Linked DNA regions of Homo sapiens: region 1 is linked to region 2. The links are contacts of gene promoters, found by promoter capture Hi-C in blood cells and fetal thymus (Javierre and others, 2016). All regions are on one chromosome and are shown on one strand. Each heading gives the region's core, a stretch centred on a gene start or on the middle of the fragment in contact. The rest is flanking DNA. Distances are from core to core; before and after follow the strand shown.

Evidence for each region. Contacts are between HindIII fragments. The CHiCAGO score rates a contact against its expected background, and 5 or more counts as called.
Region 1: a contact is called between the fragment with the promoter of TIMP4 here and the fragment with the promoter of PPARG in region 2, in 2 of 17 cell types (M2 macrophages and monocytes). The highest score is 6.7, in M2 macrophages.

What each region holds. Positions count from the first base shown.
Region 1 is chr3:12,157,477-12,160,176 of GRCh38, forward strand. TIMP4 (TIMP metallopeptidase inhibitor 4) reads right to left here and starts at 1,436. Exons shown (of 5, transcript NM_003256.4): 1 at 1,226-1,436; 2 at 1-6. The coding sequence starts at 1,364. All of the region lies in intron 5 of SYN2 (synapsin II), which reads left to right. The HindIII fragment of the contact is 8,121 bases long and covers 1-2,700 here.
Region 2 is chr3:12,287,368-12,290,328 of GRCh38, forward strand. PPARG (peroxisome proliferator activated receptor gamma) reads left to right here and starts at 1,703. Exons shown (of 8, transcript NM_138711.6): 1 at 1,703-1,767. RefSeq lists an enhancer at 1-264. The HindIII fragment of the contact is 6,976 bases long and covers 1-2,961 here.

The DNA of each region.
Region 1 (2,700 bases), core at 186-2,685, 130 kb before region 2:
GAATCACTGCATAGGAAGAGAAAAGAGGGAACCTTCAGCAGCTGGTGGGGGCAATACACCTGAGGTCTGGATGATCCAGGGTCCATGAAGAAGTCTATAGGGCAGTTCTTGGTTTTGGTGTGGCTGGGTTGTGAGCAACGTGATGTGTGAGAAGGGGGACCTGGAAACACCTCCCCTGCAGTCACTGGAAGTTCCAAACCCCTCAGGCTTATTAGGTCCTATAACCGCTAAGCTGTTTCTGCCTTTTGAACCAGTTAGTCTGGAGAGCTCTAGTTCTCCATAGCCGTTTGTGCAGTGGGGCACAGGGTAGGAGTCAGAGTAGAGAAGGGAGGAGGAGCCCCTTCAGGGCAGTCGGTGTGAAGTTTATCTATTGCTGTGGTCAAGGCCTCTCATCCCGCCTACAGTTGATATTAGTAAATGTTTATTGAATTCATAAATGTTCTGACCCTGCACTGAGGTATTGCATCTCTTGCCATTTGAGCATTAATAACCAAAAACTGTTGATGATGTTCTTCCTCTGTGCCTGGCCTTGCACTAGGCACTAGGCCCATAGATGTGATTAAGACAGGGTCCCCATCCTGCCGAGCTCTTGATCTAGTGGAGTGCACACGTGTAAAGAACAACAGCACAGCATAGTAGGAGCGCTAAGACGGTTAGAGATGCTGAGGCGGCACCAAGGAGCCCGGGAGCCTGCAGAGAAGGGGAGAGACCTAAGTTAGCCCTTGAAGGATGAGTAGGAGTCTGCCAGGAATTTAAGGGTGTGAGGGAGGGCATTCCAGGCAGAGGGAAGAGAAAGGACAGAACGTGTGTGTTGCCATAGGGGCTTGGTGGCAACCTCAGTTATAGGCCTGGACAGACACGGGTAGTTACAATGCAAGCCCTCTCCCCTCCCCTTTCTGTCCCCAGTCTAGTAGTTCAGAATAATCATCAGATAGCTCCGGTGACACCTTGTGTAATGACACTCCATAATTGCAGTATGGCCGGAGTGAGGGAGGTCGCTATGGAAGTCCCTGATGAAATCTTCATTTCCTTATGAATCAGTCAGGTTCTGGGCTTGCAAGGTTGCTATGGCGCCTGGTCCTTCTCCACCCATCAGCCTCAGCAAGAGACAACCGGTAAGAATTTGAGCTCCTCCCTTTTCCTCTGGACTCCTGGTGTACTGCTGGCCAGATACTAATCCCCCACAACCACCCCCTGCTGTGGACCTCGCGGACCTCGGACTCACCAAGTGCCGAGTGGCAGATGTGCTGCTGAGGGTGCGCCGGGGCGCAGCTGCATGCCTCACCCAGCCCCGGGGGCCGCAGCAACGCCAGCAGCCGCAGCAACAGCACCCAGCTTGGCGCGGGCCGAGGGCTCCCAGGCATGACACTGCAGATCCGCGACTGAGCCTGTGAGGTCTGGGGGACTGGACGGCCCCAGCAGGGCTCCTTCCCAAGGCCGTTGTGCCCCTCGCCCCAGGCTTTATGAGGTGGCCCTAAGGGCCAATCCCGCCCCGACGGGCTCCGCCTTCCTTTGGCTCTAGGCCACCCGCGGAGGCAGGACCCGAGGCTCTTCCGACCTGCATACTCAGTAAGATGCAGAGGGAAGCCTGGAAGGAGGCCCTGACCTCTGTTTCCCTGCCTAAGTCATGAAGCGATCTGGAAGCAGAGGGGAAGCACTGGGAGAGGGGATGGTGTCAAGGGCAGAAAGACGGAAAGAGCCACAAAGACAAATGCATGAGGACAGAAAAACTGAGGGCTGTGATTCAGGCAGAAAGAACAAGAGTGAGGAGAGGCACAGACAGAAAGAGTGAGACAGGCAGAGTCCCAGAGAGGCAGACAGAATTACAACAGGCAAAAGAGACAGTGACAGAGAAGGACGGACCCCTTGCTGAGCTGCACGCTGGGAATGAGACGAGCTACTCAGGGCTTCTTTCAGCTGCAGGAAGTGCTTTCAATGCCCTATTTATGAGGCTCCAAAGCAACAGCAAACAGTAATAGAACAGGACAGAGAAAGTTGGGGTGTGTGTGTCTTGGCTCTGTTGCCTGGGGGGTGGGGAGAGATGTCAAAGAAGCAGCCAGTGCTTTAGAAACCCTTTCTCACTCCCAGAGCCTCAGACTCTCCAGATAGCTGGAGACAGCGCTCTTGGTGTACAAAACACAAAGTGTCCCATCACTTAGGGCAAACCTTGGACCTCAAAGCCCTCTCGAGGCCCTAGACTACATTGATTTTTATTGCATGTCCCTTCTCACTGGAGACTCTGTCATGTTCTAGAAGGTGGGACAGCTTAGAAAACAAAGAAGCAGGCTGGGCGTGGTGGCTCACGCCTGTAATCTCAGCACTTTGGGAAGCCAAGGCGGGTTGATCACCTGAGGTCAGGAGTTCGAGATCACCCTAGCCATCATGATGAAACTCCGTCCCTACTAAAAATACAAAAGTTAGCCGGGCGTGGTGGCCTACACCTGTAGTCCCAGGTACTCAGGAGGCTGAGGCAAGAGAATGGCTTGAACCCAGGAGGCGGAGGTTGAAGTGAGCTGAGACTGTGCCACTGCACTCCAGTCTGGGCGACAGAGTGAGACTCCGTCTCAAAAAAAAAAAAAAAAAAAAAAAAGTAAAAGAAAAAACAAAGAAGCAGGGGACTTGGGGGTGACTGTGACCAGAGCCTTGTCTGCTGTTTGGGCACAGTGTTGCAAGCCTCCAAATCCCAAATCTCCATGGGAT
Region 2 (2,961 bases), core at 453-2,952:
AACTTACAAACGCAAGGAACTCTGAAAGTGTGCAGCACCACCGATCAGAAGAGAAAACCAAGGGACCCGAAATATGCTTTAATTAAATTTTCTTTTAAAATGTCACTGGAAAGAACATCTTGGGAAGACGGCCTGGCCGATCGCCGTGTGAAGGGCAAGCCACTCTGGCCGAGAGGGAGCCCCACACCTCGGTCTCCCCAGACCGGCCCTGGCCGGGGGCATCCCCCTAAACTTCGGATCCCTCCTCGGAAATGGGACCCTCTCTGGGCCGCCTCCCAGCGGTGGTGGCGAGGAGCAAACGACACCAGGTAGCCTGCCGCGGGGCAGAGAGTGGACGCGGGAAAGCCGGTGGCTCCCGCCGTGGGCCCTACTGTGCGCGGGCGGCGGCCGAGCCCGGGCCGCTCCCTCCCAGTCGCGCGCCGCCGCCCCCGCCCCCGCCCCCGCCCCCGCCCCCACCCCCACCCCCACCCCCACCCCCAGCCGGCGCCCGCGCCCGCCCCCGCGCCGGGCCCGGCTCGGCCCGACCCGGCTCCGCCGCGGGCAGGCGGGGCCCAGCGCACTCGGAGCCCGAGCCCGAGCCGCAGCCGCCGCCTGGGGCGCTTGGGTCGGCCTCGAGGACACCGGAGAGGGGCGCCACGCCGCCGTGGCCGCAGGTCAGAGTACGGGTGCCCGCGGCGCTCGGGAACCGGCTGCTGGCTGGGCGGGGAGTGCTCAGGGAGGGGGCGCGGAGGGCTGGGGCCGAGGGTCTGGGGGCTAGGGCCGAGGAAACGGGAACTGACGGGGTCCCAGACGGATGAGAGCTGGGGAGAAGGGGGTCTCGGCTGAGGGGTCCGGGGCTGAGGCAGGGTCATGGTCCGGCAGGACCCGGACTGACGGGTCGCGGGCGGGCGGCTCACGGGTGACCGGGTGAAGGGGTCTTGGGCTGAGGGCACCCGGGCTGAGGGTCGCGTCTACCGGAGCGCGCACTAGGGGCGGAGGGCGCGGGCACAGAGAGCCGCGGCCGGTGCCGACTCGAGTGGACGCGAGCCGGTGCGTCCCGGCTTCCAGGACAGCCCCCCTCGGGAGAGCGCCGGGTGGGCGCGGAGCCGGGGACACGGGGACCTCCGCGTCCCCGGCGGAGGTGCGCAAGCGTCGGGAGCCGCTCCGGGGGAACTTTGGAGCAGGGTGTCTGGACCCGGGGAAGCGAAGATCCGCGTGCGTCCGTCCTGAGGCCGCGCGGCACCCCTGCTGAGGAGGAGGTCCCGTTCGCTGTCCAGAGCCCAGGGGCGACCGCCGCTTGGGGACCGGGGGACCGTTCAGCGAGGGGCGCGCTTGTAGCTGGCCAGGCCCTGTGCCCTGACGCGTTGTGCTGGCCCTACGCCCGGCGGAGGGGCTGGGGACGGGGACTGGGTGCCTCCGTGCCTCCGCGGATGGAGCGCGCAGCCAGGACCCCCAGCCGCACCCCGGGGGGCTGGAAAGGCGAAGTCGCTGCTTTGTGGGCTCCTGCAAGTGCCAGGCGCTGACCACTCCTCCTGGGAGCCTAACTGAGGGGGGTAGAGGCAGCAGAGGTTAACAGAAATCTCAGGTCCCTTGGTGGAAGGTGGGTGTGTAGTCGTGGTACTTTACGCCTCGGTGTTTAGGGAGGAGCCTAAGGTAAGGAGTCAGAAACGGGGAGTAACCGAGCTGCGGCTTTTATATAAGGTCAGTGGTAGGTAAGGAAGGGGCCTTAACCTCTGCTGGTGACCAGAAGCCTGCATTTCTGCATTCTGCTTAATTCCCTTTCCTTAGGTGAGTTGGCTCACTCTCATTGCATTTTGTTGGAATGTGTTGGTGATAGGTCCGAAATTTGCAAAATTATTGTATTATCCTTATATCATTTTTTTTTGCAGTGCTCTTGTTTTATAAGAAGAATCCAATTCACTTGGGTCATAGGCTAACGGTTGTAAAAATAGTGTCATTGTTATAAAAGAAATCAAGTCAAAAATAGTCGTCTGCCATGAAGAAACTAAAATTTTTCTTCTTTTCCTTGCAAGATTAGGGACAAAATGTAAAGTTTATTTGTGTAAATTATCATTTGGATATAAAACCAGACAATGATAAACTGAGTTGTATAATACCTATTCCTGGAAAACCTCTGATTTTGAAGTACATTATTTTAACCCCAACTGTTTCTGTCATTCGTGAGACAAATTGTTAACTGGATTTATTAAGAGAACAATGAATAACTTAACTCTTTAAAAGGACCTGGGCAAATCTTCGACAGGTTTCAGGTATTTTATGGCAGTCTTTCTGTCTATTGCTAAGTGATCGATTGCTGACTGAGAACAGAACCAACTGATGGTGCTAGATGATTTAGAAAACCTTTCTGGTATAGGGACTGGCATGGACATTCACTGTGGCTTTTCTCTTAAAGAAATACCTTTCACTCCTAGGGGAGTTTGACAGAAGACACTCATAGATGCTACCAGTTAGCATTTGGAGTAATATATCAAAACATTCTGTTCAAGTTTTAAAGTAAGTTTTGTGTAGTATATTTTCAATCAGATTCACTTTGGAATCAAATACACTTTATTTGATTCCAAATAAAGTGTATTTGAATATTCACTTTAATATACGAAACTTTAAAGGTAATGTCTCAGCCAAAAAGTGAAGTGTATTACAAAACTGTCCATTTTTGTCTTCTTGTGTACTTCACATAATTTTTCTCCCTGATTTAAATTATATGATATTTGATAGTTAACTTGCTAATAATTATGTCTTAAGAGATCTTTGAATCAACTGGTGGCCATCTCAGTCTTTTAAAACTCACTTGAAGGAAAAGAGAAACACTAATGATGGTTTTTTTTAAAATCAAAAACTTTTTTCATATTTACAAGTTTGTTTCTAGTTCTTAAACAATAACTGCTGTAAAACCATGGCATCAGTGAGGTATAAAGTTTTGTAGAATCCCAGGCTGAAGACTTTTTGGATGTCGTTTTCTCA